6 separate regions of the Homo sapiens genome follow, and regions 2, 3, 4, 5 and 6 are each linked to region 1. The links are contacts of gene promoters, found by promoter capture Hi-C in blood cells and fetal thymus (Javierre and others, 2016). All regions are on one chromosome and are shown on one strand. Each heading gives the region's core, a stretch centred on a gene start or on the middle of the fragment in contact. The rest is flanking DNA. Distances are from core to core; before and after follow the strand shown. Region 1 holds the start of CABLES1 (Cdk5 and Abl enzyme substrate 1). Region 2 overlaps RBBP8-AS1 (RBBP8 antisense RNA 1). Region 3 overlaps SLC35D4 (solute carrier family 35 member D4). Region 4 overlaps SLC35D4 (solute carrier family 35 member D4). Region 5 has its middle 140 kb from the start of SLC35D4. Region 6 has its middle 130 kb from the start of CABLES1.

The links. The method cuts DNA at HindIII sites, captures the fragments that hold promoters and counts their contacts. A CHiCAGO score of 5 or more calls a contact.
Region 2: a fragment that was not itself captured here is called in contact with the fragment with the promoter of CABLES1 in region 1 in 3 of 17 cell types (naive CD4 T cells, total CD8 T cells and naive B cells); the score reaches 7.1 in naive CD4 T cells.
Region 3: a contact is called between a fragment that was not itself captured here and the fragment with the promoter of CABLES1 in region 1, in 1 of 17 cell types (total B cells). The highest score is 5.1, in total B cells.
Region 4: a contact is called between a fragment that was not itself captured here and the fragment with the promoter of CABLES1 in region 1, in 5 of 17 cell types (endothelial precursors, total CD8 T cells, megakaryocytes and 2 more). The highest score is 10.6, in endothelial precursors.
Region 5: a contact is called between a fragment that was not itself captured here and the fragment with the promoter of CABLES1 in region 1, in 3 of 17 cell types (endothelial precursors, megakaryocytes and total B cells). The highest score is 6.7, in endothelial precursors.
Region 6: a fragment that was not itself captured here is called in contact with the fragment with the promoter of CABLES1 in region 1 in 5 of 17 cell types (megakaryocytes, endothelial precursors, M2 macrophages and 2 more); the score reaches 11.0 in megakaryocytes.

What each region holds. Positions count from the first base shown.
Region 1 is chr18:23,133,267-23,137,476 of GRCh38, reverse strand. CABLES1 (Cdk5 and Abl enzyme substrate 1) reads right to left here and starts at 1,992. Exons shown (of 10, transcript NM_001100619.3): 1 at 870-1,992. The coding sequence starts at 1,714. RefSeq lists silencers at 1,124-1,373, 1,474-1,683, 1,814-2,023, 2,144-2,223, 2,984-3,093 and 3 more and an enhancer at 2,644-2,793. The HindIII fragment of the contact is 5,609 bases long and covers 58-4,210 here.
Region 2 is chr18:22,923,287-22,927,496 of GRCh38, reverse strand. The region is part of intron 1 of RBBP8-AS1 (RBBP8 antisense RNA 1); the gene reads left to right. It also overlaps a transcript of RBBP8 not described here. Among named protein-coding and RNA genes, the nearest start is that of RBBP8, 7.9 kb to the left of the region's middle. The HindIII fragment of the contact is 632 bases long and covers 1,460-2,091 here.
Region 3 is chr18:23,326,632-23,330,841 of GRCh38, reverse strand. All of the region lies in intron 13 of SLC35D4 (solute carrier family 35 member D4), which reads left to right. Among named protein-coding and RNA genes, the nearest start is that of SLC35D4, 110 kb to the left of the region's middle. RefSeq lists an enhancer at 1-570. The HindIII fragment of the contact is 2,491 bases long and covers 508-2,998 here.
Region 4 is chr18:23,307,740-23,311,949 of GRCh38, reverse strand. It overlaps SLC35D4 (solute carrier family 35 member D4), which reads left to right. Exons shown (of 15, transcript NM_032933.6): 14 at 2,206-2,270. Among named protein-coding and RNA genes, the nearest start is that of SLC35D4, 130 kb to the left of the region's middle. RefSeq lists enhancers at 3,464-3,963, 3,964-4,210. The HindIII fragment of the contact is 284 bases long and covers 2,132-2,415 here.
Region 5 is chr18:23,290,999-23,295,208 of GRCh38, reverse strand. It overlaps a transcript of SLC35D4 not described here. Among named protein-coding and RNA genes, the nearest start is that of SLC35D4, 140 kb to the left of the region's middle. The HindIII fragment of the contact is 2,143 bases long and covers 775-2,917 here.
Region 6 is chr18:23,263,749-23,267,958 of GRCh38, reverse strand. It overlaps a transcript of SLC35D4 not described here. Among named protein-coding and RNA genes, the nearest start is that of CABLES1, 130 kb to the right of the region's middle. RefSeq lists an enhancer at 587-676. The HindIII fragment of the contact is 6,403 bases long and covers 1-4,210 here.

The sequences.
Region 1 (4,210 bases), core at 743-3,242:
AACGGATCTGCATTTCCCCACCTGTTCCCGCCTACTCGCCTACTTCTTTTGCAAGCTTCAGTTCACACAGTCCCAACCTCCGACTGCCCCTTAGAATAATACATGGTGACAAACTCTATTTCCTGAACAATAAGCAAACGTCCAGCGTTTCATGTTTTTGCTAAGACGCCTAATGCCGCCAGATAACTTCAGCTAACAAACAAGTAAAACAAGCGTTTAACGAACTCAAGCAAATTCATCTTGGAATAGGAAAAAAATCCCTCAAGCCCTATTTCCTCTTTGTTCCCCACCCCCCTAGGCCTAGTTGGAGGCAATGTAAGAAGGACTTTCCATTGCTCAGGAAAGCAAATGGAAAAAGCCAAGTTTCCCCGGGCCGCAAGAAGACTTGGAGCGCAGGCAAGAACTTCTCCGGAGGGTCACGCGTGTCTGCTACAAGTTCAGGCTCACACGCGCCGCTCAGCTGCCGGCCTGCACTGCTCCACTCTGCGCCCGGCCGAGTCTCGCCCCACGCGGGGAAGAGTGCGCCTCCGGGTCTGGACCGGGTTTCAGGAAGTTTGTGATCTCGTGTGGGGAGGCTCGGACGCCGCTTTCTACTGGGCTCCTGCAACTCCCAATTCCCGACCCACTGCACAAGCGCGGTGCTCCTCTGCGAATGCTGGGCTCGTGCAAACACGTGTAACCCCGCACTCCCTGGGGACGCCCCCTCTTTTGGGTGCCCTCGTGGTTTGGGATTCGGGCCCGGAGCACAGGATCCGGCAGGGCGCGGGAAAATGGGAGCAACCCGTGTCCCGTAGCCCAGAGACCGCGGGGAGGCTGGGAGCGCCGGGCGGGACGCAGGGTTGGGTGCGCGTCGCATCCCGGATACTCACCGGGACCTCTGCAGCTGCTCGAAGGCGCTGGTGCTGCCGCCCTGGCCTGGCTGCTCCAGGGAGCAGTAGTTCTGCGAAGTCGGCCTGGAGAAGGCGATGGGCAGGATTCCCTGAGTGAACGAGTTGAGGCGTCCCCGACTGCCGCTCCCACTCCCGGGGGTCCCGGAGCCCAAAAAGGCGGCCGCCGGCACCTGCACGCTGATAAAGGCATCGTCCTCCTCCAACTCCTCCTGCCCGGCGGCCCCGGACCCGTCGAGCAGCTGCAGTTGGGCACAGGCGGCGAGAGGCGCCGGCCGGGGCGGCTGCCACTGCTCCCCCGACGCCCGGCCGGCGCCCAGGGGACTCGCGAACCCCCGCGCCACCCCGGGGCCGGACACGGTCGCATGGCCGCCAGGAATCAAGGGCGGCAGCGACGAGGGCTGTGGGAGGCAGGGGCCGGACCCAGCGGCTAACCCCGCAGCCGGCGTGCCCGGCGCGGCGAGCGCGATGCAGCCGCCCCGCTCGGCAGCGGCGAGCAAGCTGAACCGAGTCCTCGCGCCGCAGGCGCCGCCGGCGCCCGGCTTGGCCGCGCCGCCCTCCTCGCCACCGCCCCACTCCGCGTCCTGCGGCGGCAGCCGGCCGTCCAGCGAGATGTTGGTGAGGAAGGAGAGGGCAGCCTGGCGGCGCCGCGGGTCCATGCGCGGCTTCCGGGGGGGTTCGGGCGGCGGCTGGGCCGGCGCGGCGGCCGCGGGCTGAGGCTGGGGCTGCGGCGGCGGCTGCTGCAATCCGCTGGCGCCCGCGGCGTCGGTGCCGGCGCTGCCGCTGCTGCAGGCGGCCGTGGTGGCGGCCGCCGCCGCCGCCGCCATTGTGTCCGTCTGCGGCGGGATTTCCGCGATGCCCGGAGAAGCGAGCGGCGCCCGAGCGCTAAGCGGCGGGCGCGAGCGGCGGCGACCCGGGCTGGGTAGGGCGCGGGGATCGGGCGGCGTGCGCGGCGGTCCAGCCCCCCCGCGGGCGGGCCATGCTCGCCCCTCGGTGCTGGGGATGGGGGCGCCGCCGCCCCGGCCCACGCGCACGCCTCGCTACCTAGCTCGGCTAGTTCGGCTCGCTGGCTGGCCGCCCGCCGGTCGCCTGGCCGCTGGCTCGCGGGCTCCGGGGCCGGGTGTCCGTATTTATAGGTGCGCGCGCCCCGCGCTCGCGCTCCAAAGCCCTCTTTGCAATAACACGGAATCACGTGTGGGGAATGCGACCTGGGAGGAAAACAAAGCCGCAGGCGGCGGCCGCAGAGGCAGACGGCGGGAGGCAAGGGGCCACGGGAGGAGGAAGAGGAGGACGCGAGAGCCGAGCGGGTGGTGGGGCGGGGGATCGGCCCGGCTGTCCGGGTTGTCGGAGCTGCCTGCTGGGAGAGTTGGCGACTCCCGGGGCCGCGGAAGCCAGGTGCGGGAGGCGAGCACGTTTCCCCCGCGCGCTCGCACTGGGAATTGGGTGAGCGAGCAGAACCCGGTGGGTTAGGTCCTGGGGCTGTGCTCCTGGGAGAGTTGTGGGTCTACAGGACGGTTATGTGGAGCGTTGCAGAGTTTTGGACTGCGAGCGAGTTACTTGGACCCCGCAAGGCCGTTGGTCCCCGAGAAGTAAATAGATCCTTTTCATAATAACACGGGTAAGTCCACAGCCCCTATGGAGACTGTCCCACCGTAAAGCTATCGCTAACAACCATTGCAGTTGGGTCTATTCATTCCCAGGCCAAGGATGCAGCCCCCGGGATAAATGCACGCCTTGGGATGCATAAGAGCCCAGAAGCACGAACATCTTACATGTGGCCAACGAACTCACGCATCCCCAATCCATGGTATTGTCACTTTTCATCTCTCTCTTAGCAAAGGACAACGCAAATTTTTTACTTTGGCTCTGAAATGTGCTCCATTTTCTGTGAAGACCCAGGTGGGCTAAAATGACCTTACACTCTTTTCCCCTGGTCACCTTGCAAATTTTTGTAGATTATGATCTCTTCTCCCTCATAAACTGGGACCAATGTGGACAGTTACCCTGTCGTTTATCTCATAAGCACGTTTGGCACCTACCATGTCTTCTATAAATACGGGTTCCTGACGGCCCTCCCAGAGCAGTAGCTCTGAATCTGGGAGGAGTCGCAGTCCCCACCCACAACGAATGCTTGTTTTGGTTGGGGGTGGGGGCGGGGGCGGGGACAGGGTGGAGGAGTTCACCTGGAGGGATCTGAAAACGTGTGCGGGTTTCCCCAGGCGGTATGGGCAACTTAACAAATGCAGTAAGGAACAATTGCCACACTGAATTAAGCTCTGTGACACCTAAGAAACCTGCTGCACTTTTGAGGGAGAAGCAATGTGTTTCAGATCAACGGATTAATTTAATTAAAGGTTTAAATTTAGCCCTGGAGCTAATGGGTAACTCTACATTGAAATTCCACTCCATTTCAAGTTCAGGAAAGTAAATTGAGTAATGGAGAGCAAATACACCGTCCAGAGAGGTGCCGCCAACCCGGAGTGCCAGACAGAGAGGGTTTCAGGTTACATTTGCTCAGGACAGAGATGGCACGTGGCCCTTTACATGAACAATCGTTGTTATATTTTATTTTGTGCTGTTTTTAGGCCTTTTGAAAACATGGAGCCTGGTGTCTGTTTACAGCAGCCTCATGTCAGTGGAGTCAAAGCTCAATGGCCAGCTCTGTGAAATTTCACCAGGATTTTAATTATTTTGGCTAACTACCTTGAAACTTCCAAGCCCTTTTATGACAATTGACTTAATTTACATGACCACTGGCCTGGTTGGGAGGCAGTGTTAAGTGAAAGACTCCAACGGTGCTCCTGTAAAATATATTTTCCATCATTCAAAAATGATAAATGTTAATTTCAGAACATAAGATAAGCAAAGAGGAGCAAAAAAAAAGGGGGTATCACTAACAATATCTTCTGTGGAAATAACGTAAAACTTAAATTTTGATTTCTGTTTTGTATTTTCATATATTTTATAGAGAGATATGTATATATATTCTTTTAGCCTGTCACCCAGGCTGGAGTGCACTGGTGTGATCATAGCTCACTGCAGACTCCTGAGCTCAAGCGATTCTCTCTGCCTCAGCCTCGCGAATAGCTGGGACTACCGGCACCCACCACACCTGGCTAATTTTTTTAAAAAAATTTGGCCTGGCACGGTGGCTAAAGCCTGTAATCCCAGCACTTTAGGAGGCCGAGGCAGGCAGATCACGAGGTCAGGAGTTCGAGACCAGCCTGGCCAACATGGTGAAACCCTGTCTCTACTAAAAATACAAAAATTAGCTGGGCATGGTGGTACGTGCCTGTAATCCCAGCTACTGGGGAGGCTGAGGC
Region 2 (4,210 bases), core at 526-3,025, 210 kb after region 1:
AGCGCAGGCCCAGCATATATAATATAATCAATGAGTGAACAAATGAGGTTGTGTGATTTACTTAAAGAAGCAGGATGGAACTGGGACGTGGGTATCCAATTCTTCGTTTATTTCTGCTATTTGTGCTGGGCATTTCCCATCTCTGTCCTGCTCCCTGCATCATCCCATCCCCCACCCAGCATTAAGTGCCTGTGTCTCCAGGCATAAAATTAAAAAGTAAGTGATTAAATCCTTTATGATTATTTATCTAAAACTCTCTAGTATCTCTGACATGAACACACAATACTGGTAAACTGGGGTGAATTGTTATACCTGCAGTCATAACTATTTTAAGAACACAACAAAGGCTGTTTGAGAGGTGAGGGAAAGAAACTTTAAGACAAAAGAAAAGTATCTTAACTGGCAACATTTGTGTTAACTTGAATGAACACTTGATTCAATTTTTTAAAAGTTGTTTACAGTAATTAGTAAGTGTTGTTTGTGAGTGGGAGTATACATCAATCAGTGATCTTGCCTCAAGTGCCAAAATGTTTTGTTTATGATTTGAGTTGATGGTGCCAAGATTCCAGATTGAGAAGTTTTATAATTGTATAAAAATATATATTTAACATTGGTGGAAGATGTCAGCATCACAGTTTTTATTTTGACAATATTCTAGGTGTTCATTTAAATGCTCATAATGGACATTAAAGAGTATACCTTGCTTTTTAATTAGAAAGATTAGTCTCGTGTAGCCTGGCCAATTTCCAGTTTAGATAAGGAAGCTTTATTTTGATCTTCACTCTAGCTACATTGGACTTCATACCTTCTTCGTTTCCCTTTTTAATCTGTTGAAATAGTTTTCTGTTTGTTTTTAAACATCATTCACCAAGCTGCTTCATTTCCCATCAGTAATGGCCAAAGTTTTACTGGCACATAATTTGCCCGATTTAGGAACTATCTCTTTATACTTGATAAAGAAGGTTAAACAGTATATTCATAGTTGCCCAGGTTTAAATTATAATGGGGTGATGAAGAACGTTGTTGATCTGTTATTTGCAAAATGGTTTCTTTTTTATTTATTTATTTATTTTGATACAGAGTCTTGCTCTTATCCCCCATGCTGGAGTGCAGTGGCACGATCTTGGCTCACTGCAACCTCCGCCTCCCAGGTTCAAGTGATTCTCCTGCCTCAGCATCTTGAGTAGTTAGGATTACAGACATGTGGCACCACGCCTGGCTAATTTTTGTATTTTTAGTAGAGACAGGGTTTCACCATTTTGGCTAGGCTGGTCTGGAACTCCTGACCTCAAGGGATCCACCTGCCTTGGCCTCCCAAAGTGCTGGGGTTACAGGTGTGAGCCACCGCAGCCAGCAAAATGATTTCTTATGAATGGAAAGGGACACCTGTTTCTTCCATGTCATCTATTTATAATGCAGTGGCTGTTTGGACAATATTTCGTATCTATTCATATAAGCTTATGAAGCCCAGGAATTTTGTTAGTTGGTTAGCCCATAAGCCTTTTTTCTAACCCTGGCACTTAAAAGGATCTCAGAACTTAACTGCTGAAAAAATAAGATAATTTAAGAGTGATCACTAAGACTGTAGAGTAAAAAAGTTTATTTTATTTTCAGAATCTCGAAAAACAAATCTTTACCATTTTGTCTATTAAAGTATTATACTGCATTGTACCTATGTATAATGCTACCATGATACAAGCTGTGGGAGTAATATTTATTTACAGCAATGGAAAATATTATGAAGGGCTAACCGTCGGAACAAGTCAGTGACATTTGGATTCTATTAATTAAAGAATTCTTTGATAGGTTCACACAAGCAAACATGTTTAATATTCATTGCTTTGTCCATGTGAAAAAATCATCGCATCTTAAACACTAATTTTTTTCACCTGTGAATTGATGGATTTATTCACTGCCAGCAAATAGTTGTGATCTTTAATGTAATTATGTGCTTCACAGATTACAGATATATCTTTAAACGCACTGTCTTTTTTTGGTCTTTATTCTAATTATGCTTGAGAAAAAAGACTTTGTTTAAAATATTGGCTTTTTGTTTTTTCTAATCCATGTTAATCTAAGTTTAAGGAAGCTTTGATAGTTACTTTTCCAAAGGTAAAATAAAAAATTTAAAAATGTTTTATGTTCAACGTTCAGTACTTAAAGGAGATCCTGAGTTTTAGCTAGAAATGTTTTCAGTTTTATGTAAGTTATAATCAGAAAGATTAAAAATGTACAGTGAAATTGTGTTTTAATTCAGTTCATACTCTTGGTGACAGTTTGTTTTTGTGGACTATTTAGGATACTAAAATTGAAATAGATAGGCTTCCGGCCAAGTGCAGCAGCTCATGCCCACAATCTCAGCACTTTGGGAAGTCTAGGTGGGAGGATTGCTTGAGACCAACCTGGGCAACATAACAAGACCCTGTCTCTACAAGAAAATAAAAATAAATCTAGCTGGGTTCAGTGTTGTGTGTAGCCTCAGCTACTTGGGAGGCTAAGATGGGAGGATTGCTTGAGCCCAGGAGGTCGAAGCTGCAGTGAGCCTTGCTCACACTCTGGGTGACAAAGCGAGACCCTGGCTCAAAAAAAAGAAAAAAAAAAAAGCTTCCTTCCTTTTCTCAGTTATGGTAGACCTCTTATGTGAGGTGATCATATGCCCTAGCTTACCAGTGACAGTCCTGGTTGATTCCTATTGCTCTAGCTTAATTATTAATACAGCTCACTTTTACTTTAAAAAACATCCTGGTTTGGATGACTGTAAACCATATGGTCAGAGCCTGATGCAGTGGCTCATGCCTGTACTCCCAGCATTTTGGGAGGCTAAGGCAGGAGGATCACTTGAGCCCAGAAGTTTGAGACCAGCCTGGGCAACATAGTGAGGCTTTGTTTCTATAAAAAATAAAAACAAATTAGCCAGGTACGGTGTGTATGCCTGTGGTCCCAGCTACTCAGGAGGCTGAAGCGGGAAGATCTCTTGAGCCTAGGAAGACGAGGCTGCAGTGAGCCATGCACTGTACTCCAACCTGGGTGACAGAGCAAGTACATTTTTCTTTTTACTTCAAAAAGCTTTGGCTGGGGGCAGTGGCCCATGCCTGTAATCCCAGCACTTTGGGAGGCCGAGGCAGGCAGATCATGAGGTCAAGAGATCAAGACCATCCTCGTCAACGTGGTGAAACCCCATCTCTACTAAAAACACAAAAATTAGCCAGGTGTGGTGGTGTGCACCTGTAGTCCCAGCTACTCAGGAGGCTGAGGCAGGAGAATTGCTTGAACCAGGGAGGCAGAGGTTGCAGTGACCTGAGATTGCACCACTGCACTCCAGCCTGATGACAGAGTGAGACTCCGTCTCAAAAAAAAAAAAAAAAAAAACCAAAAACAAACTAACTAAAAAATGCTTTACACTGTAGGAGGTAACTAAAAGTACTTTAAAATTTGATTGTAATTTAATTAGCCTCAGAGCTGAAAATAAACTGGACTTTCTCAGTCAGGATTGGAGTGAAACACCTATTATAATCATCTCACTTCATTTTTTAGGCTAATTTATTTCTTAGCATTTTTGGCACATATGCTTTTTTACTTGCCTTGTAATAGATATGTACATTTGAGAAATGAATATAAATTTACTTCTAATAGAATTAGAACAATGGTTATACTAGCTTTCCCAGCCCTGGTTGTGAGTTGTTTCATGTACAAAATTTAAAATCAAGTAGATTGAAGGGTCTTAAATTATGTTGTAATCTCAGAAGGGACAGAGTAGGAAGTGCTCCAAAAAATTGTGATCATGTTCTACAGTCAGTGCTGGCATATAACCATATTCCCAGCCTTCTTGTACTATGGAAAGAGTCGTGAGCTGGGAGATAGGATGAGAGATTAAATTCTGACCCTATCTCTGATTATCTGCATGTTTCCTAGACAAGTCTTATTTCCCTCACTGAAAGAGGATATTAATACTCACTGTGCTCAAAGGGGTTGTTGTAAGAATGAAATAATATATTTGAAATTTCTTAAAGAAGAATTAAGAGACATTTGAAGCAGCTTGCCTATTGGGAGAAGAATGGCAGAAGGCTTTCCAGGCAGAAGGCATGTGCAAAGGCTATACTGTGGGGAATCATTGTTGAGTTCTATAACTGCAAGTGTATAGTAATGTATTTGTATAAGTTGATACTGGGAAGGCATCAGCTGCACCATCTAATTTGCTGAATGAATTCTA
Region 3 (4,210 bases), core at 504-3,003, 190 kb before region 1:
TGGACCCCCCGTGCTTTGCTGCTGTTGCATTTTTCTTTACATGTAACTGTACAATGTAGAAAACACCTCCAGGAAACTGAGAGGCTGGTGGAGACTAATGGAGAACAGATGAACGTAAGGGAAGTAGGTTGTCACGGGAGCCAGGAACTCACTCTGCAGCTCCGCAGAGCGAGCCGGCTGTCAGGGTGCACCTTAGGGACACCTGCAGCCCAACCATCCGGAGAGCTGAATGCCAGGCGTCCCCAGACATGAGCAGGCATGGGCTGGGGTGTGGAAATGCAAATGGCGTGGTTTCCTGGTCAGAGTTTGAATTTTCCTGTAGGTATTTAATGTAGGGGGTATTCACCATTATTGAAGCAAATAACTTTCCCCTTAACTTGTGACTTTAATTTTGACCCATGACATCTCTAGAAAAAAAACCTTAGAAACCATTTAGTCCACTATCTTCATTTAAAAAGTTCAAAAGGCTAATTATAGAACATGTAGAAAGTAAATGAAAAAAAAGCTTATGGGACTCTACCATAATAGACATTTTAGAGTATATTCTTTGGGAAATTTTTTTTATACACACATTCCTGAGGTTTTCTGTTTTTACAGAAATGGGATTGTTCTTCACCTGTTGGGTTTCTTTTTTTGTTCTTTTTTTTTATACTTTAGGTTCTAGGGTACATGTGCGCAACATGCAAATCTGATGCATAGGTATACACCTGCCATGTTGGTTTGCTGCACCCATCAACTCATCATTTACATTAGGTATTTCTCCTAATGCTATCCTTCCCCCAGCCTCCCATCCCCGACAGGCCCCGTTGTGTGGTGTTCCCCACCCTGTGTCCAAGTGATCTCATTGTTCAGTTCCCACCTGAGAGAAAACATGTTGTGTTTGGTTTTCTATCCTTGTGATAGCTCAGATTGATGGTTTCCAGCTTCATCCATGTCGTGCAAAGGACATTAACTCATCCTTTTTATGGCTGCATAGTATTCCATGGTATATATGTGCCACAGTTTCTTAATCCAGTCTGTCATTGATGGACATTGGGGTTAGTTCCAAGTCTTTGCTATTGTGAATAGTGCTGCAATAAACATACATGTGCATGTGTCTTTATAGTACCATGATTTATAATCCTTTGGGTATATACCCAGTAATAGGATTGCTGGGTCAAATGGTAATTCTAATTCTAGATCCTTGAGGAATCGCCACACTGTCTTCCACAATGGTTGAACTAATTTACACTCCCACCAACAGTGTAAAAGCGTTCCTATTTCTCCACATCCTCTCCAGCATCTGTTGTTTCCCGACTTTTTAATGATTGCCATTCTAACTGGCATGAGATGGTATCTCATTGTAGTTTTGATTTGCATTTCTCTGATGACCAGTGATGATGAGCATTTTTTCATGTGTCTGTTGGCTGCATAGATGTCTTCTTTTGAGAAGTGTCTGTTACATCCTTTGCCCACTTATTGATGGGGTGGTTTGTTTTTTTCTTGTAAATTTGTTTGAGTTCTTTGTAGACTCTGGATATTAGCCCTTTGTCAGAAGGATAGATTGCAAAAATTTTCTCCCATTCTGTAGGTTGCCTGTTCACTCTGATGGTATTTTCTTTTGCCATACAGAAGCTCTTTAGTTTAATTAGATCCCATTTGTCAATTTTGGCTTTTGCTGCCATTGCTTGTGGTGTTTTAGTCATGAAGTCCTTGCCCATGCCTATGTCCTGAATGGTATTGCCTAGGTTTTCTTCTAGGGTTTTTATGGTTTTAGGTCTAACATTTAAGTCTTTAGTCCATCTTGAATTAATTTTTGTATAAGGTGTAAGGAAGGGATCCAGTTTCAGCTTTCTACATATGGCTAGCCAGTTTTCCCAGCACCATTTATTAAATAGGGAATCTTTTCCCTGTTTCTTGTTTTTGACAGGTTTGTCAAAGATCAGATGGTTGTAGATGTGTGGTGTTATTTATGAGGCCTCTGTCCTGTTCTATTGGTCTATATCTCTGTTTTGGTACCAGTACTGTGCTGTTTTGATTACTGTAGCCTTGTAGTATAGTTTGAAGTCAGGTAGCGTGATGCCTCCAGCTTTGTTCTTTTGGCTTAGGATTGTCTTGGCAATGCGGGCTCTTTTTTGATTCCATATGAACTTTAAAGTAGTTTTTTTCCAATTCTGTGAAGAAAGTCATTGGTAGCTTGATGGGGATGGCATTGAATCTATAAATTACCTTGGGCAGTATGGCCATTTTCACGATATTGATTCTTCCTATCCATGAGCATGGAATATTCTTCCATTTGTTTGTGTCCTCTTTTATTTTGTTGAGCAGTGGTATGTAGTTCTCCTTGAGGAGGTCCTTTACATCCCTTGTGAGTTGGATTCCTAGGTATTTTATTCTCTTTGTAGCAATTGTGAATGGGACTTCACTCATGATTTGGCTCTCTGTTTATCTATTATTGGTGTATAGGAATGCTTATGATTTTTGCACATTGATTTTGTATCCTGAGACTTTCCGGAAGTTGCTTATCAGCTTAAGGAGATTTTGAGCTGAGACAATGGGGTTTTCTAAATATACAACCATGTCATCTGCAAATAGAGACAATTTGACTTCCTCTTTTCCTAATTGAATACCCTTTATTTCTTTCTCCTGCCTGATTGCCCTGGCCAGAACTTCCAACACTATGTTGAACAGGAGTGGTGAGAGAGGGCATCCCTGTCTTGTGCCAGTTTTCAAAGGGAATGCTTCCAGTTTTTGCCCATTCAGTATGATATTGGCTGTAGGTTTGTCATAAATAGCTCTTACTATTTTGAGATACGTCCCATCAATACCTAATTTATTGAGAGTTTTTAGCATGAAGCGTTGTTGAATTTTGTCAAAGGCCTTTTCTGCATCTATTGAGATAATCATGTGGTTTTTGTTGTTAGTTCTGTTCATGTGATGGATTACTTTATTGATTTGCGTATGTTGAATCAGCCTTGCATCCCAGGGATGAAGCCGACTTGATCATGGCGGATAAGCTTTTTGATGTGCTGCTGGATTCGGTTTGCCAGTATTTTATTGAGGATTTTTGCATTGATGTTCATCAGGGATATTGGTCTAAAATTCTCTTTTTTTGTTGTGTCTCTGCCAAGCTTTGGTATCAGGATGATGCTGCCCTCATAAAATGAGTTTTAGAGGATTCCCTATTTTTTTTTCTATTGATTGGAATAGTTTCAGAAGGAATGGTACCAGCTCCTCTTTGTACCTCTGGTAGAATTTGGCTGTGAATCCGTCTGGTCCTGGACTCTTTTTGGTTGGTAGGCTATTAATTATTGCCTCAATTTCAGAGCCTGTTATTGGTCTATTCAGAGATTCAACTTCTTCCTGGTTTAGTCTTGGGAGGGTGTATGTGTCCAGGAATTTATCCATTTCTTCTAGATTTTCTAGTTTATTTGCGTAGAGGTGTTTATAGTATTCTCTGGTGGTAGTTTGTATTTCTGTGGGATCAGTGGTGATATCCCCTTTATCATTTTTTATTGCATCTATTTGATTCTTCTCTCTTTTCTTCTTTATTAATCTTGCTAGTGGTCTATCAGTTTTGTTGATCTTTTCAAAAAACCAGCTCCTGGATTCATTGATTTTTTTGAAGGGTTTTTTGTGTCTCTATCTCCTTCAGTTCTGCTCTGATCTTAGTTATTTCTTGCCTTCTGCTAGTTTTTGAATTTGTTTGTTCTTGCTTTTCCAGTTCTTTTAATTATGATGTTAGGGTGTTGATTTTAGATCTTTCCTGCTTTCTCTTGTGGGCATTTAGTGCTATAAATTTCCCTCTACATACTGCTTTAAATGTGTCCCAGAGATTCTGGTACATTGTGTCTTTGTTCTTATTGGTTTCAAAGCACATCTTTATTTCTGCCTTCATTTCATTATTTACCCAGTAGTCATTCAGGAGCAAGTTGTTCAGTTTCCAGTTGTGCGGTTTTGAGTGAGTTTCTTAATCCTGAGTTCTAATTTGATTGCACTGTGGTCTGAGAGACAGTTTGTTGTGATTTCTGTTCTTTTACATTTGCTGAGGAGTGCTTTACTTCCAATTATGTGATCAATTTTAGAATACGTGCAATGTGGTGCTGAGAAGAATGTGTATTCTGTTGATTTGGGGTGGAGAGTTCTGTAGATGTCTATTAGGTCTGCTTGTGGCAGAGCTGAGTTCAAGTCCTGGATATCCTTGTTAACCTTCTGTCTTGTTGATCTGTTT
Region 4 (4,210 bases), core at 1,024-3,523, 170 kb before region 1:
GCAAGTCCAAGAAATACATCTCCATTGGCACCGTCCCAGGCCATGTCTAAGAAGTTGCAAAAGGAAAGAATGACTAACAACATAGTTAACTTCAGTCAAGACTAATGAAGGGGGTGGGGGGAATGAAGAGAAACATTACAAAAAAGGAAGGTAATCAAACAGGCACAAACAATGTAAAATATTTCTTCAAACAGCTAAATATTAATGAATTGGGAGACCTAGATGAAATACATTTTGAGGAAAAGTGAAAATGGAAAATATGCAACAATGAGAAAGAGAAGACTTGATTAGGCTAATAGCTATTAAAGATCACCCCCAGCTAGGAGATCTAGATCCAGGGGCCTTCAAGTCACGGGTAACTTTCAGAGTCAAGATCATCTATAACTGTTGCAGGATAATAAGCAGAGAAGCTGATGAACTCACTTATGTGGTTAGTACAACATTGTTTCCAAGACCAGACAATTGCATTGAGAGGTAATAACATTTTAGTCCACTTCATTTATGACCATAGATGCAGAAGTCCTAAATTAAATGTTAATAAAAAAAAAAAAAAGAAGGGCCAGGCACGGTGGCTCACGCCTATAATTCCAGCACTTTGGGAGGCCAAGGCGGGTGGGATTGCTTGAGCCCAGGAGTTCAAGACCAGCCTGGGCAACAAAGTGAGACGTTGTCTCTACAAACAAATATTAAAAATTAGCTGGGTGTGGCAGTGTATGCCTATAGGCCCAGCTACTCGGGAGGAGTGCTTGAGTCCTGGGAGGTCGAGGCTACAGTGAGCTGAGATCACGCCACTGCACTCCAGCCTGGGCGACAAAGCGAGACCCTGTCTCAAAAAAAAAAAAAAAGGGAAGAGAAAAGAGGGACATTCATCATGCGCATCAGCTCAAAAGTTGTCATTCAATATGATCTTTGAGAAAAAGCCACCACTAGTCTCCACTTAGAGAAATCTCTTTCCCTATCCTTTGTATTCTTGTAATTGTCTGTCTGGCTGGGCTTCTACTTCTTTATTGCCCCTGAGGACAATACCCAGGTCTTTTTTTGTAATCAAGGTTTTTGCTACAAATCAATAAAGCGAGGCAGAAAGTGATACCAAATGACTTAACTACAAAGAAAAGTTCCAAAATCTCACCATGTTTATATCCTATCATGAGAATTCTGTATTTGTAGTTCCAGACTTCTTTCTGAGATGGTAATGCGTGACGATGAGGTTCATAAACATACTCCTTCCTTCTGCTTGTCTGTCTGCTGCCTTGCTCCCAGCTTGGAGACCCAAAGAGGCCTCCAAGACAGCACATGAAATCCCCTTGAGGGAGATGGTAGCTGAACCTCTCCCAACCTGGCCTACATCCCACCTCTCACTGCAAGAAAGCAGTTTCTTAAGCTTACCTTCCCCATGGAAGCTGTTTTGACCTGCAGGATGTGGAAGACTGGAAGCCAGAAACATCTTTCCTTAAGCAGACATTCCAAGTGTGGACAGAGCGGGGCCACTGGTTCACACACTCTCTTGGTGCTGGGGGGTTCGAGGCACTTCTGGGGTCTGAGTCCTGTGGCTGCCATTCCTGAGACACCTTTCTGGAATTTCCAGCCTTGAGAGATGTGGAGGTAACCTCTTCCCTCTCCTCTGGCTTCTAGATATTTGCAAATAATTAATTAATGATTTAATCACTCCTTTCCCCAGGATGCACCTGGTTTCTTAGAATGTGTCATGGATCAGAAAGATGGGAGCATTAGGTGAGGACGGAGAGATGGTGCATTGGACAAAGGCTGGGTGACAGATAAGTTTTTATCTGGAGGATCCGAGAACAGGTTAATGAGCACATCTGACCTTGGAGACGAGTTCTGCACTGCTGAGACAAAATGGAAATGAGTTTTCTTAATATACCCCTTCCCTGGAGAGAGATGAGGGCGGCCTTGGCTGTGCGCCTCCCTTTTGAAGAATTTGGAAGTTAAATGCTTCTTTGAACATTCTCACCTCCAAAACAGACTAAGACTTAGCCTTTTCTACACCAAATGCTTGGCTCAGAGGCACCGCTAAGTACAGGGGGCTGACTAGGAAGCGTGTGGGGAAAAGGACACGGGAAGTGGAACGAAGTGCCTGATGGCAGGCATCCGAACTCAAGTGAGCTAAGCTTGTGAAAAAAATGACATTGGAGGTTTCCAGAGCCCTGCTGGTATGATGACCTTGTGTTGAAATTATTTCTACAGATAATCACAGCTGGCTTATCAATATTGCTGTTTGATGCGATCCTGACCAGTGCAACCACGGGATGGTAAGTCTTTTGCATAGAGAGATAAAGTGCCAATTAGTTACTGAGTTTCATCAGGATACTAAATTTTGCTCTCAAATGTTGCAGAAAGGGAGTGTGCGTTGGCTGTGTATCTCCATCCAAATGCAAATCTCATATTAGCGAAGCTTTCTTTAAAAAAAAAAAAACTTGTATTGACCTGTAAATACAAATTGGGAAGAGTGCATATATCATAAATATACTACTTGATGGATTTGTACAAACCAACCATTCTGTATACCATAACCAGCATCCAGAGCAAGAAACAGAACATCACCCTCACTCCTCCACCCCAGGGCAGCCACTGCTGGTCAACCACTATGTGTATATATATGTATGTATATGCATAATATGTATAATATAATATGTATAATAATATGTAATGTTTAGTAAACCACTATACACACACACACACACACACACACACACACACACAATCAGCCCTTTGCATGAACAGGTTCCAGATCCTCAGATTAAACCAACTGTGGGTCAACAATGCAGTTTAGGCCTGCAATGGTTGCATCTGTACTGAACATGTACAGACTTTTTTTCTTGTTATTATTTCCTAAACAGTACAGTATAACAACTATTTACATAGCATTTACATTGTATTTGATATTACAAGTAATCTAGAGATGATTTAAAATATACAGGAGGATGTGCATGGGTTGTAGGCAAACACGACACCATTTTATATAAGAGACTTGACAACCCATGGACGTCCTGGAACAGATCCCCTTTAGGTACTGAGGGGCAACTGTATACACACACACACACACACACACACAGAGAGAGAGAGAGAGAGAGAGAGAGAGAAAACACGTGCTGTGTTTGGGTGTCTTTCCATTTCTTTGATTTTTCCATTAACTTTCAGATAAGCTCCAAATGATCCTGTTTAGAATGCACTACCCATTTGCATAAAGACAGCATGCCTCACTAAGCTGTCTGAGCAGAGACCAGAAGGAAGTGAGGGAGTGAGCCATGGGGATGCTGGGGGACAACGGTGCCAAGGGGTGGGGAGGAAGCAAGAAGACCAGGGGCTCTTGCCATGATCTAGGTGCAAGATGATGATGGCTGAGAACTGGCTGATAGCAGTGGAGGTGGGGAGACATGGTAGGATATCTGAGGCACTAGGATTTGAGAGAGGGGAGTCTAGGATGACTTCTAGGTTTGGGTTCCGAGCAATGAAAGAATGAGGTTGCCTTTACTGAGATGGAGAATGTTGTGTGAAGAGCAGGGTTTGGCAAGGTGGTGGTGGAGGCGTACTGGGCATTGGTTTGAATGTATGAAGGCTGAGGTGCCTGTTGGACCACAGAGTGGAGATACAGGAATAGATCGTTCGCCAAATCAGCCTGCGGATCTGGGGAGGGGAGAGCCTTTCTGTGCCTTGGCCATGGCACACATGTGTCTCCTCAGGGCTTCTGGGCCTGTCACTTCGGCCCGGATGCCTTCCTCCCTGCTTTCAGTTGGCCACTACTGCTCATCCCCCAGGCCTTCAAATCGAGGTGACCTCAGAGAGGCTTCCCTGGCCACATCCTGTGCAAGCCCTGCTAGCTTTTTCCTGTCGCCTTGCTAATTTCCTCCCTGACAGTTCTGACTGTTGTGACCAGATTCATTCCTTTCTGCCCATTAGGGTCTGCCTCCCTCCCAGAAGCAGTGCGCAGGACCCTGGGGGTATGCAGGAGACAGTTGGGTGTGGGGTGGTGTTCAGCAGGGCAGACCGGGACAGGCAGGCTCTTCAGAAGGATGGCTGAGCAGGGCAGATGGGGACAGGTGGGTTCTTCAGAAGGATGGCTGAGGCAGGGGCATGGCTGTGGGGAGACACAGTGGGGACTCAGAGTCCCAGGAGGTAGGTGTGGCCGTTGTGATGGTAGCTTCAGGACACACCTCCTGGAAAAGGCCACACTGCCCTGCCCCATAGCCCT
Region 5 (4,210 bases), core at 597-3,096, 160 kb before region 1:
GGCCCGGTGTATGTTGTTCCTCTCTCTGTGTCCGTGTTCAACTTACTTTTGTTCTTCATCTAGGATGTCAAACTTTCTAGAGACTGAGGGTCAAATAGAAAATCTGGGTTTAGAATTGTCCTTATTCTCTTGCTCCTGTAAAACTCTATACAATGGAGACCAGTTCTTTTCCACTTGCAGAAAGTGGCATCTGTCCAAGTGTCATTTTATACCTGTCTTTCCAAGTGCCATTTAAGCAAATGGAGGTTCTGATGACTGCAAAGAGCCATGCAGTTTAAACCCAGTCCTCTTTCCAGCAGAACTGGCCCCAAAAGCTTTGGCTGAGAAGTTTTAGATCCTTTTTCAAATAGTTCTCTAGCAAGCCTGTATTTGTTTTCGTTTGGTTGTTTGAAACACCTTTCAGAGTCCTCTTTGTTTTTTGGTTTGTTTGTTGTTTTGTTTCGTTTGCTTGAGATAGGGGTTCACTGTGTTACCCAGGCTCGAGTGCAGTGGTGCAGTCACAGCTCACTGCAGCTTCAACCTCCCAGGCTCAAGCAGTCCTCCCACCCCAGCCTCCCAAGTGCCTGGGACTACAGGCACGTACCACTCCACCCAGCTAATTTTTTATTCTTTGTAGAGATGGGGTCTCACTATGTTGCCCCCTGCCTGTTGTTCTTAAAATCTCAGATCTTTTCTTACATTGACACCAGCAAGAGGCAGAGGATAAGGTGTTTTGTCAGTATGCTATCAGTTTCCGTCAGTTTCTATTGGTTCTTGGGCCTTTTTATTCAAGCTTTAACCACCATCTTCTATGCCCAAATTCACGTGCTCAGCGCTGAATGAAGGATGAGCCCACAGACCTGAACAGTGGAGTGGCCCCCTCACTGTAGCCCCAAGCTCTCATTTTCTGCTTAGGGAGTCTCCAGGTAAGCCCACACTCTCCCTTTATTTACCCTTGGATCCTGTTTGGTACCTGATGACCTTAATCCTTGCTGGACCTCAGTCAGAGCCTTGGGATTTGGGTTTTTTTCTTTTATTTCTATAAAGAAAGAACGTGCTTTCTATTAGGAGAGGCAAGGTTGTGTACAATGGTGTATTATTACTAATATGCTGTGGATATAAAGAAAAATAAGGGCCAGTCACGGTGGCTCAAGCCTGTAATCCCAGCACTTTAGGAGGCTGAGGTGGGAGGATTGATTGAACCCAGGAGTTTGAGACCAGTCTGGGCAACACAGTGAACCTCCATCGCTACAAAAATAAAAAATAAAAATTAGCCAGGCATGGTGGCTCACGCCTGTAAGTCCCAGCTACTCAGGAGGCTGAGGCAGAAGGATTGCTTGAGCTCAGGGGTCAAGGTTGCAATGAGCCATGACTGTGCCACTGCACTCCAGCCTGGGCAACAGAGCCAAACTCTGTCTCTAAAAATAACAATAAAAGAAAAATAAATTGTTTATTTTCTTTCCTTTGCCCTTCTTTCTGTTCTCTTCAATACCGGCAGGGGAGTGTTACAGAAAATATTGGTGTTAACCCTGGGGAGGGAGTTCTTGTAGCTTTAACCCAGATCCAGACTCCTCTTTCTGCCCACATCCAGACCACTGAGCTTGAAATAGAGAAGGGCCCACCCAGTGCCTCTAGCCCTGTGCTGTCCAGTGTGGATGCCCCTGGCCATCTATGGCTTTGGAGCACTGGAGTGTGGTTGGGCCAAATTCAGATGGGCTGTAAGTGTAAGAACACACTGGTTTCAAAGACTTAATATTTTTTAAAAAGAATGTAAAATATCACATCATTTTTCTATTGATTACATGTTGAAATAATATTTTTTATATATTGGGCTAAATAAAATGTACTATCAACATTACTTTCTCCTGTTTCCCTTTACCTTTTGTAACGTGGCTGCTAGAAAATTTTAGTTTATAGATGTGGCTCCCATGATATGTCTGTTGGTCATGGCTGATTTATATTCATTCATTCATTCATTTATTTTTGAGATGGAGTTTCGCTCTTGTCACCCAGGCTGGAGTGCAATGGCGCGATCTCGGCTCACTGCAACCTCTACCTCCCAGGTTCAAGCGATTCTCCTGCCTCTGCCTCCCAAGTAGCTGGGATTACAGGCATGCACCACCAAGCCTGGCTACTTTTGTATTTTCTTTTTAGTAGAGATGGGGTTTCACAACATTGGTCAGGCTGGTCCCGAACTCCTGACTTCAAGTGATCCGCCCACCTCGGCCTCCCAAAGTGCTGGGATTATAGGCGTGAGCCACCACGCCTGGCCTTATTGCTGATTTAGAGCAGTTCATCTACACTGGGCCCAGGGAAGTGGCAAAAGAAGGGGGTGTTGGTGGTGGTTGCTGGGGTTACTGACCCAATAATAATATTTAAGATTATAGTTACTGGTGCCTATTTCATGCCAAGCATTGTGCTGGGTACTCTCCAGGCTCCCTGTCATTGATTCTTCCCAATGGTAGTGCAGGGGACATTCTCTTCATTTTACCAAGGAGATCAGAAAGACTCAGTAACTTTTCCAGGCCCACCCAGCTGGGACTCGAATCTAGGTTATTCAAAGCCCATGCTTTCAACCTTCATGCTAGAGAGTTCTGTTGAGAAGGAGAAATGAGGTCCCCGTGTTTCACAGGGGTTGTCAGTTCTCCAAGAAGTGCTGAGGTGTGGATTCCTCACATCTCTGAGGTGATTTGTGACTCTTCCTGAAGGCCATGCTCCTTCCCTTTGCCACCGGGCAGGGTCTGTGGCCTGCACTGCAGCTGCCTTCCCAGAGTGTCCCAGTTTCTTTCCCCAGCCTCCTCCCTCAGGTTCTGTCTGAGACTCTTCGTGAATGGGGTTGGAGCAACCAGGAGCACTGGGGAAATGGCACTGCTCTCACCTGAACTATCACTCTGCGTGTTTCCAGAACCCGCAGCCACTGTTTGTTGGTTCTCAAGCTTGGTTGCAGGCAATGGCATGTTCAGATAGGTGAGGAGCTCGAAGATTGAAGGAAAAGCTTCCAGACCCTGAGAGACAATGTCAGGAGAGGACACCATTCTTTTCACTGGGTCTGCATGCCCAAAAAAGGGAGTACAGTCACAGATTGGGGTGAAAGCACAAGCAGGTAATACCATAAGCAGTTAGTCATACTTGGAACATGACATCTCTATTGAGAAGTTGCCTTGGACAAAGTATTGAAATAGGATATGGAATTGGCTGGAAGTTCAAGTGGCTGGGACTCATTTGAAGTTACTTAATGGTCCTTTGATCCTTGTTCTGGGGGAAGCCAGTCAAAGGGGTGAGACTTTTGGGCTTCTCCTGGCCCCACCCAATGTCCCTGGCTTCAGGCTGTGTCCCTGAGCCCAGCCCGGAGAGAAGCAGTGGTGGCTTGTCTCCAAAGATGCCCCACCTCCATCCCAGTGGTATTCATTCTGCTATACAGTTCTGTTCCTTTCTCTTGGGTCTGGGCTGGCTCTGCGACTTACCTGTAGCCAATAAGGTGTGATGGAAATGGTGCTATGTGACTCCCAAGGCCAGGTCAAAGCAGCCTTGCAGTGTCTGCCTTGGTCTTCTGACAGCCTCAGGAGCCCTGAGCTGTTGTGCAGGAGAGGCCAGGCATGGGTGCTCCAGGAGACAGGCCCCACTGAGCCCAGCCTTGCAGCTGGCTTGCCAAACCACTCAACTCACGAAGGAGGCTATCCAGGTCCTCCAGACCAGCCCATCTGCCAGCCGAGTGCCATCAGGTGACCTCAGTCAGTGCCACATGGGGCAGAAGAATCACCCTGCCCAGCAGTCCCTGAATGAATTCCTGCCACAAAAGCATGAGATATGGTAAAATCATTTTAAGCCACTAAGTTTTGGGACAGCGTGTTATGCAACAATAGAAAATAGAGCTGAGGCCCACCGTCCTGCCCTTTCTGCAAGATGCTAGCATAAGTGGGCTGTCCTCTGAGACCCTTGAACTCTGTTCTTCTCAGGCAGATCCAGTCTGGGCTCTCTGAGCCCCTCCCCTGTCTAGACTCTTATTCTAGGAGCACTGTTCTTCACTGCAGCTGACCTCAGCCCAGACGCTGTCTTCGGAGGAAGATCCCAGACGGTCCATGACTTGTTCAGACCCCATTGCAGGGCAAGACCCACAGCCCTTAGCCATTGGCTCAAAGCACGTCATTCATTCATTCAAAAGATATTGAGACCTACTGAGTGCCAGGCTCTGTTTTAGGATCTGAGGATATAACCACGAATGAGATGAGCC
Region 6 (4,210 bases), core at 851-3,350, 130 kb before region 1:
GAATTGTAGGGACTTCCCAAACCGGGTGGCCAGAAGACTTGCAGTTGAATTGAAACCATGGGATGTTGTGTGTGCTGAGAGGGGGACTCTGTTCAGTGCACATGGTGCGGGCCTGTGTGCCAGGGGCCTGAGGAGGCCTTGTGGGGAAAAGGGGCTGTGTGACAAGATGGGCAACAGGACACCCTAGTGCAGCCAGCCAGGCAGGGAGTGGCTGAGGACCTAAGGGAGCGCTAAGGAAGGAAAGAGGATGGGGCAGGGGACCCCAGATGTGAAGCAGAGGTGCAGAGGAACGGGACAGAGTCAGGGCGAAGGGAAGGAGGCACTTTAGGGAGAAGCTGGCTGAGGGCCGACAGTGCAGGGAGTGGGCAGCCGGAGAGCCATGACAGAGGCAGCAGGAAGAGCAACTGTGTGGCACAGAACAAGAGCTAGAGGAGTGTCCTGGGGGGAGGAAAGCAAGTCCCTATTGAGAAGATTGGGGGCAGGAAGTGGGCCGGGGTGGAGGGAGTGCAGAACAACCTAGAGAGCCACCAGGGCTGGCACGGGACAGGTGGAAGGGGCAGGAAGCGCCCGTTCAGAAGAGCCTATAGAGTCTGAGCTGAACTTGAGAGGAGCGTGGGCTTGGCAGTGTGTCATAGACACCCTGAAATTCACCTGCAACCCCCAGTGGTGTCCTGAGGCCATGTGCACGCTGGACAGCGGAAGAGACCGAGGGTGGTGTCAGTGAAGAATGTGGCTGAATCTTACCAGGAATGAGGTGAGGCCACATCGCGTCTCACAAAACTGCCCCCGGTTCCTCAAGTCAGCAGCAAGGGGCAGCCCCATTTTCAGCCAGGCTCTGGTTTAGAGCTCTCACTGTGGGGCGGCAGGGCAAGCACCTTCTTCTGGGTCAGGCCCCATGCAGATGCGGTTTAGGGCAGAGTGTGGGCACAGCTCTACCTCTGTGGTCTGTTGGTCGGATGCTCTGCCCTGGAGTGGGGGGCCTAGGCTAGGTGGGGACACAGACCAGCAGGCAAGGCAGCCCACCAGCCCCTCATCAGCGAACCAGGAGTCACTCCCTGAGCTTCGGCGAGGGAGCCTCTCTGGGGGAGGAGAGTGAGAGAATCCAACAAGCTGCTCTGCAGGGCGGGTGCCGCTGAGGGGGCTCCAAGGGCCACGTTTGAGGGCAGCTGTCCAGGTGAGTTGGCCAGGCGACCTTGTCATCACTGGAGAGGAAGCCTCAAGGCCACAGGGGCCTCATAATCACCCCATTGAGCTGCTCAAGTAAGCACCTGGGGGAATTTGGTTTCAAGAAAGCAGAAAAACACCTGAAGTCCATTTGTTGGCTAATGGCTGTGAAGCCACCTGGTTGAAGAGACCACTGTGCCTCTTCAAGGACATCACCGGTCCCAGCTCCTGCATTCCCTGAGTTGTCACCGACACTCTGCCTGAGCAGTGGGGGACAAGAACGGAATGGAATCTGAATGTATTTTATGGTCCAAATTTGGCCCTAGGCACCTATCTGTGCTCCAATCTCTTTCTCTATAAAGCAGGATTTGTTTTTTTTTTTTTTTTTGCTAAGAATTAAGTTCAATGGAGGTAAAAATAGTAATTGTTTTCATCTATTGAGTGCCTACTGTATGCCAGGCCCTGGGCCAGGGGTTTACTGTGCCATCTTCCAGAGTCCCTCTGATGGGAGGTACTATGACCCCCAGCAGGCATGGGCTGGCCAGTGGCTTGCATAAGGCCGCACGGTCTGCCTAGCTCTGGAACCTTTTCCTGCCTTCCAGTGCCTGCTCCTCCTAGTGTCAGCTGCCCCTGGGCTCCCTAAGGGCTGCTTCTGAGAAATGGCCCCTTCCGGCTGCATATTTTTCCAAAAACCGTTCTGGCCCCAGGCTTCCCCTGAGGCTTCCCCTGAGAGTATCTGTCACTCTCTCCAACACATACTGGAAAGAAGGGGGGAAAGTAAGCAATTCTCATTTGTGTCTTGTTTTTATTTTATAAATAAAAATGAAAATTGATTTCATGGAGAAGGCAGCTGCCTTAGGGAACATGGTATCTGGCTTAGACACTCATAGAACAGTATGTATGCTTCATCAGGGCCTTCTAGATAAGCCTCAGAGGCGATCTGCTTCCTTTTTCTGGAAGCCACGATTTTTAAAAAATAATTTATAGCAAGTGGTTCCGGCAGAGTGTGCCATCCACCCTCTCCAGTGGGGAGAGAGATTTCTTTTTGGTCATCTTTTATGATCAGCTTCTGTTCAGATGACCCTCATAAGAGAACTCCCAAGAACTCCAAAGTCTCAGTGGGGCCACGGCAGCTGTTGGGAGGGGTCTGGGCTGGTGGGAAGTGCCCATTGGGCTGCTTCAAGGCCAGGGTCATTGTAGCCAAACTTTTTTCCTTTCTGGTTTTTTTTTTTTTTTTTGAGAGCCATGTGATATTTTTGACTGTTCCTATCCATTCTTGGTGCTTTGGGGGGACGATTCCTACTGCTTGTTTCCAGAATGCTTTGGGGTTATAGACAACCCCAGATTGCCCGTACTTGATGAGACACCGTTTCCTACTCTGCCAACTGGGTGTATTGGCCAAAGCCACAGCATGAACTTGATGGCTCGTGCATTGGGAGAAATTGAGTGAGTTTAGTGAAGGAACTGTCCAAGAAGGGGTGGTGAGATCCCGGGACTAGCAGGGCCCCTTGGCTGGGGTGGAGGCTGGGCCGTGGAACACACACCCCAGTTCCCGTTCTCCTCCTGCTCTCTCATTTCTGGTCAGTGTCTCTCCTTCCAGAGCCTAACCAGAAGCTGGAGGGCAAGGAAACCTGGGTGCTGGGATCTGCAGAGTCAGCCCTGAGTGAGATGCGGATGTGGCTGGATATTTATCCCCACCCAAATTTCATGTTGAAAAGTAATTCCTAATGTTGTAGGTGGGGCCTGGTGGGAGATGTTTGGGTCATGGGGGTGGATCCCTCATGAATAGCTTGGTGCTGTCCTCACGATAGTGAGTGAATCCTCACGAGATCTGGTTATTTAAAAGTGTAGGCCGGGCACGGTGGCTCATGCTTGTAATCCCGGTAATTTGGGTGGCTGAGATGGGAGGATCGCTTGAGCCCACAAGTTTGAAACCAGCCTGAGCAACATGGTGAAACCTCATCTCTACAAAAAATACAAAAATCAGCTGGGCGTGGCGTGATGCACCTGTAATCCCAGCCTATTTGGGAGACTGAGGTGGGAGAGTCGATTGAGCCTGCAGCAAGCCATGATTGCACCCCTGCTCTCCACCTGGGCAATAGAGTGAGAACCTGTCTCAAAATAAAAAAATGACGGCTGGGCACGGTGGCTCATGCCTATAATCCCAGCACTTTGGGAGGCCGAGGCAGACGGATCACGAGGTCAAGAGTTCGAGACCAGCCTGACCAACATAGTGAAACCCTGTCTCTACTAAAAATACAAAAATTAGCCGGGCGTAGTGGCGCGCGCCTGTGATCCCAGCTACTCAGGAGGCTGGGGCAGGAGAATCGCTTGAACCTGGGAGGCAGAGGTTGCAGTGAGCCGAGATCGCACCACTGCACTCCAGCCTGGGTGATAGGGCGAGACTCCGTCTCAAAAAAAAAAAAAAAAAAAAAAAAAAAGGAATAAAGTGTGGCACCTTCCCACCCCTCTTGCTCCTGTTTTGCTGTGTAGCGTGCCTGTTCCCGCTTTGCCTTCTGGCATGAATAAAAGCTCCCTGAGGCCTCTCCAGAAGCTGAGCAGACACTGGCACCTGCAGAACCAGCAGGCAATTAAGCCTCTTTTCTTTGTAAATTACCCAGTCTCAAGCATTTCTTTATAGCAATGCAAGAACTCTCTAACACAGATGCTGAGCAGAAAGCTGATTCAGAGTTGCAGGGAACAATCCACCCAGTGGGGTAATTTGTTTTGCGATGGCTCATTTAACTCAACCAGTGTTTATTTGGTGAATTCTGTGTACCAGGCCCTGTGATAGGTGCTCGAGTTCATGGTGATGGAATCCAGTCCTGCTCTGCTGAACCCTTTGGTCTACAGCAGCAGTTAAGGACTATGGAGGTGCCTTTCAGCGCACCTGACACATCTGACTAGGGCCTGTGCTCTGCAAGTGGCAGTGAATCAAAGTCTTTCTGTGACATTTGGGGGCTGAGACATGAATAGTCTCAGACAGCTCGTAATCCCTGAACCATTCTCTGTGTGATGTGGCCATCCTTGCCAACTGACCGCCTGG